Regions from separate parts of the Homo sapiens genome. Here region 1 is linked to region 2. Evidence: promoter capture Hi-C in human tissues and cell types (Jung and others, 2019). All regions are on one chromosome and are shown on one strand. Each heading gives the region's core, a stretch centred on a gene start or on the middle of the fragment in contact. The rest is flanking DNA. Distances are from core to core; before and after follow the strand shown.

Region 1 (3,170 bases), core at 153-2,652, 570 kb after region 2:
TAGACATCAATCTTAATATTTACATTCCACAGAAGTATTCTCATTTTAAATACCTTTGGGAAGAATACACAGAGCAACCACTTCAAAATGGAAAAAAGCAAATATGTATAAAATCTGAAATACTTCCTATAACAGTATGAAAAAGAAACCAGGCTTTTCACACACAGGCTAAAAGACGGATTCTTTCATTCATGTGCTTCACATTTTTGTGCACCTTTTCCTAGTACATCCCACAAGCTACAGAACCCTACTGGCAAAAAGCTTTACTCCAGGGAGAATTTTTTTTTTTTTTACTTGATGGAAGAAATGGCCTGAATTTAAAGCAGTTTTTCTTTCTCATCAGACCAATGCAGTAACTTCTATGCAAAATATAATGAAAAGTGGAAGTCACCTGCCCCAGCCTCCCAAAGTGCTGGGATTACAGGCATGAACCACCACACCCAACCACAATAGCCCATTTTAGCAAATATAACAATATGTGTCATTTACTTTAAAAGTATCCTTTGGAAATAAATTATATATATAATTTATTCCTCCCCTAGTCCTGGGGCAGGAAGCAGAGAACAGGAAGACCCCATCATGGCCCGCCAGCATAGTCTCCACCAGGCAGAGCCCTCATGCATTCTTCTTAGTCCATATCATTAGTCTGCTGACAGCTGAAAAAACAAACGTGGCATGTAAATGGTTTTTGGCTCTTAAGGGATATCGGTGTACAGTATGTCAAAGCAAAGGTTGTATAGAAGTCAATATATAAAAATTAAAAACTCCTACAAGACTGATTTTCCAGAGTGGCTTATAAGCTAATTCTTTAATTAACACAAAAACAGAATTTCAAAAATATTTGGGCAACTGTGATATCATTTTGAAATAAACACACAGCCATCCAAAGTTGATAATACTTGAAAAATAAGTCCTTGGAATATAGAAATGTAATGGAATATCTGGGTATATCTGTCTGAAAACCAAACCAATATAACACACAAAAAATACGCTCTTGTCTTACAGAAAAAGAAGCATTCGATGGACCAACGATATAAGAAGAAAAGCTAGAAATACTGGTTGTCAAATATTTGCAATCAAATGTATCTTTAAAACAATTACAGATGCAAAACATATGTATTTCGCAGATTGGAGCACACCATATTTCATTTTCCTTTATTTTTTATACCTTTAAGTATAGCACACACTTGGAATAGGACAACTTATGTATGTAGAAAATGCACCTTTCCTCTCAAACTCACTCATCTGAAATAAAACTGCTTATCTCCTGCCCCACAACAATTATGAAATCAACTCCTTCACAGCACTCCCAAACCTCACTTATGGTAATTACATCCTCCAAATTATTCAGACTCAATGCCTTGATAACTCTAATTTGATATCCAATCTGTTAGCAAATACTTCTGGCTCTACCTTCAAAATGAATTAAAAATCCAACCATTTCTCAATGTCTCCAGTGCAGCCACCGTAGTTGGATGGTGGTGATGTACCATCATCTTGCAGATTATTGTAGGTGCCTCTCACTGGTTTCCTGCTACTCCCTACTGTCTTCTTCTCAGAATAGCTGAAAAAGTCATCTTTTTGAAATGGAAGCAACGTCACTTCACTCTGCCTGAAAACTTCCAATGGTTTCCCATCTCATTCAGAATAAAGGCCAATTTTACAGCAGCCTACAAGGCCCTGTGCAATGTAGCTCGTGTTTCTGAAAAATTCCTACTACTCTCCCCTTACTATTCTCCATCCACAACAGCCTCCTTGCCATTCTCTCTGCCTGAAACACCATTCTCCTGTGCAGCCTCATGGGTCACTTCTTCATGGCCTCCAAGTCTATGCCTACAAGTCATCTTTTCTGTGAAGTCTTCCCTGACCATCCTATTTAAAATGACAAACTTTCCTATACCCCCCTTCTCTTTATTTTTTTTCCACAGTACTTACCACCCTCATACAAACAAATTTTACCTGTGTCTTTATTATCTGCCTCCCTTCACGGCTAAGTTCCGGGAGGGCAGGACTGTTTTGTCCACAGTTGTACCCTCATGGTCCACAACTGAGATAAACACACACTAGATGTTCAATAAATATTTGTGAATAAAATTATTTCTCTCCATAAAACACCAAATTGTGTGACCAAACAGGGAGTATATGTTAATGTTTTTATAAAATATTTTCAAGTAATTATTACTATGAGTAAGAATAAAATAGAAAATCACAATACAAAATAAATAGAGGACTTAAGTCTGAACTGAGCACCAAGGGAATGGTGGTCACATTTCTAATTAAACTTATCATTGTTTATTCTGTTTTACTTTAATTTGCTTACTTTCTAAAGTAATCTTTGTCAAAATGAATGCTTAGAAGTATAATTGTTTTCATTCTTATTCTTTTGCTCTTACATATCATGATACAAAAATTATTTTATTACAACCATGGGGAAAATTCTCTACATTTGCTATATATCAATTTTTAAATTCATAATAATTTTATTTTAAATTAATGTATGTTGCGGCTCATAAAATGACACACAGCTAAAGGGTTCCTCATTCTGTAGCTAGAGAACGCCATCTGGCTCAATATGAGAGAAACCACACTATTATACTGAATACTGTTATAAACACAATCTTTCGTGCTTCTAAAGAAACTTCCTGCTAAGATGAAATAAATTAAGTTGTGGTATTTTATTTAATAATACTTTATAAACAAAAAGTACACAGACATAGTGAAAGAAGTTAATAGTAAAATATTGACCATAATAATGGGTATTTCTAAGTATTTTACAGGTATTGCCATATTTAAACTGTACAAGAATCCCTTGAGGAAGGCAGGTACTATTTTTAATCCCATTTTACAGATGTGAAACCTGGGGCACTAAAAAGGCCACCAAATGGAATCCTAGTAAAGCTACAATTCAAATATAGGCAGCCTGGCCCCAGAACCCACACACTTAAGTGTCACACAACCTGCCTCTTCTAAGACAGCAAACATCAAGCAAACTTACCTAATATACCTTTCAGAGCATTAAAAGTAGATTGAGGTCTGCTTTATAGGGTTTACAGTCTAAAGAAGTGAACCCTCAATTTTTGATGGTATACTACTTTATCAAAAATTATGCCTAGTACAAATGATCAGATTTTTCTAATGCAGTTTGTTAAGTACACAGAAGAAAATATTTA
Region 2 (2,800 bases), core at 132-2,631:
GAAGTACATGAGCCCATACACCTTGGTCGGCTCACAAGGTGCGCCGCAGTCCTTCTCCCCCAGGAAGTGGTAGTTGAGGTAGGAGGGCACCTTGAGGGCGCGCGGGCAGGAGAACTTGCCTCGCTCCGACGCGCCGGCGCCCCCCGGGAAGCCGCCACGGTGCCCTCCGCCGCCGTGCTGAGGGTTGCTGGTCCAGAACTCTGGAAGCAGCGAGGGCGTCGGGGTGCCCTTGTCGGACGTGTTCTGGCCCACGCACAGCTCGCCGGCGCCGTGCACCGGGAACTTCTCACACTTGAGCGTGTCTGGCCACTGGAAGCCGAACTTGTTCATGAGCGCCTCGCAGCCCTGGCGCGCGCGCTCGCACAGGGAGCGGCAGGGCGGCAGCGCCTGCTCTAGCACGGTGCACACGGGCGCGTACATGGAGCACAGGAAGAACTTGAGCTCAGCGGAACACTGCACTTTCACTAGAGGGTAGAACTGGTGCACCTCCAGGCCCGCGTCCTCCTGGTTCGTGTGGCCCAGCAGGTTGGGCATGATGGTCTGGTTGTACGCGATGTCCGTGCACAGCGGGATGGAGATGGGCTGGCAATAGCCGTGGTCCGGGACGGAGATGCCCCGCTCGCCGTTGTACTGCTGCCCGCTCTGTTGCTGCTGAGGCGGCGGCGGCGGTTGCTGCCCCGGCCCGGGCCCCTGGCCTGGCCCCTGGCCCGCCGCCTGGGCCCGGACCCCCAGCAGCAGCGGAGCCTCCAGCAGCCAAAGCAGCAGCAGCAGCTGGCGCGCCAATCGCCGGGGGTCAACTGGCGGGCGGCGGCGGCCACCGGCGTCCCCGCTGCCCTCCTCCGCCAGCCGGGCCGAGAGCGCCCCGGCACAAAGTTCCCAGCTCGCGCCACCGCCGGCGGCCCGGGACTTCTTAGGCGCCTCCTCCTCAGCCATACTTTCTCGGCTCCTCTCTTGGCGCCGCTCCGCTGGGGCTGCCAGGGGCACGGCCGGCGGCGGCTCCCCCTGCGGCCAGGGAGACCTCTGCGCGGGTGCCCTCCGTCGAGCCCAAGCCGCTTTCGGCCCGCTCCCCCGGCTCCTGTTCTGCGTACCGCAGCCGCCGCCGCCGCGGAAACTTGCGATTCATGAAGCGCGGGCGGCGGGGAGAACCCGGGTGGCTAGGGCGCGCCGGGGTCGTGTCCCGCCTTCCTGGCCCTCGGCTCGCTGGCTCCCGGCTGGCGGCGCCGCGCTAGTGGCCGCGGCCCCGTAGAGAGCGCAACTCTCCGCAGCCCAGCGGGCTCGGCTCCCCCCTGCGCCTCCGCCTCCTTCTCCGCCGCCGCCGCCTGACCATTTGTGTCAATCCCTCAACTCGCTCCCTCTCCTCTGCCTCGCGCGCCCTCGGACCGGTTTCCAGGCGCCCCGTAGTCTGTCTTTCACCAGGAGGGAGGAGCCTTGAAACCGACGCAGAACTGGAGGCTCAGGGACCGTCGCCCAATCGCGGCTCCGGCTTCCCGGCGCAAAGGGAGCCGGCCGCCTCCTCGCCAGAGCGAAAGCCAGCGGCAGGAGGGCGGGGTAGGAGGAGGCGGGAGGAGGAGGAAGTAGTGGTGGTGGCACTACTCAGGCACAAAGAGTAGGATTGCTCTGAAGCGGGACAGGCTTGGTTGCTTTTGCTTTTTCAGAAGAAAAAGGCGAGGATACGTAGGAGAATGGTCCCATATGCTGCTGGAGATAATGAATAGGAGTCAGAGGACCGCGGGACTTCGCTTTTCTTTTATTTTATCCATTATCATGTTTAAAAATCCTGCTCTTAACGCTGGTTACCAACAGCAAACCGGGTTCTGCTTCCAGAACAGATGCCTTTGACTTAAGGAGCGCACGGTTTCCTTTGAGTTTGTGTCTGTCGAGGTTTTGTTTAACATATTACATTAATAAATCCTCCAGTTCGCAGGCTGGGCTTGGCGGGCTTTGGTCGCGCCATTTCCCCAGAGGAGACGTTCACGGGATCGCTGTCAAATGAAACAAAACACAAACTTTGATGGAATTTGGAAAGTAAAGCCAGATGCGCCTTCTGCTACTATCATTCTTCTTGGAGTCAAACTCCTTTTTTTCCGCCTCTTTAATCAAGTCAGAAACAGAAGCAAAAGAAAACTATCCATTAAATTTTTGGAGAGAAAAACTTAAGAACCCGACGACCGAGGCAGTGGGGGCGCCTCTCTGGGATCGTCCTCGCCGCTCCAGACCGCAGAGGTGGCGCCGGCGGGAGCTGCACTCGCCGGCAGCTTGGGCCCCTGGGGAGCCTTTCTAAACCCTGGGGACGCCCACGGCTCCGATGGGAACTCCTGGGACCTGGGCCATTTAGGTTCCACAGGCTGGGCTGCAGAGCTGGAGACGCCAGTTTAATAAACAAAACAAACAAACAGTCTGAAAGCAAACAGCGAACTGCACATTCTCTTCCTAATTCCAAAACAGCATAATCCGTCTCAACAGACGCACATTAATGTTGTTTTCCTTGTAAGATTATTTTAAATGATGGTTTGACTATGTAATTCAGTTTTATAAGAAAAGTGCCATTGGACTATTAATTCTTCCATTTTTTTTTTTTTTTTGCCTGTGATCAGACTCTATCTCAGCGTACTTTTCACCAATTACTTTCTATCATTCATTTACACATTCATTTGTTTAATAGATACCAACCACCCATTGTGCTATAAGCACTCTTAGGTCGTAGAGTATAAAATGAAGGAGACCTGTGCCAGCCTTAGAGAGGGGCATAGTACAGTGAGGCACAGAAATGCAAATCACTTGTTACAGTGTCCATCCCAAA

The links. The method cuts DNA at HindIII sites, captures the fragments that hold promoters and counts their contacts. A contact is called where the count stands out against the background at its distance.
Region 1: a contact is called between a fragment that was not itself captured here and the fragment with the promoter of FZD1 in region 2, in 1 of the 25 tissues and cell types used here (thymus).

The regions. Positions count from the first base shown.
Region 1 is chr7:90,690,059-90,693,228 of GRCh38, reverse strand. All of the region lies in intron 2 of CDK14 (cyclin dependent kinase 14), which reads right to left. Among named protein-coding and RNA genes, the nearest start is that of CDK14, 95 kb to the right of the region's middle. The HindIII fragment of the contact is 3,260 bases long and covers 1-3,032 here.
Region 2 is chr7:91,263,014-91,265,813 of GRCh38, reverse strand. It overlaps FZD1 (frizzled class receptor 1), which reads right to left and starts at 1,381. Exons shown (of 1, transcript NM_003505.2): 1 at 1-1,381. The coding sequence starts at 933. RefSeq lists silencers at 637-696, 787-1,296 and an enhancer at 1,417-1,596. The HindIII fragment of the contact is 5,225 bases long and covers 1-2,800 here.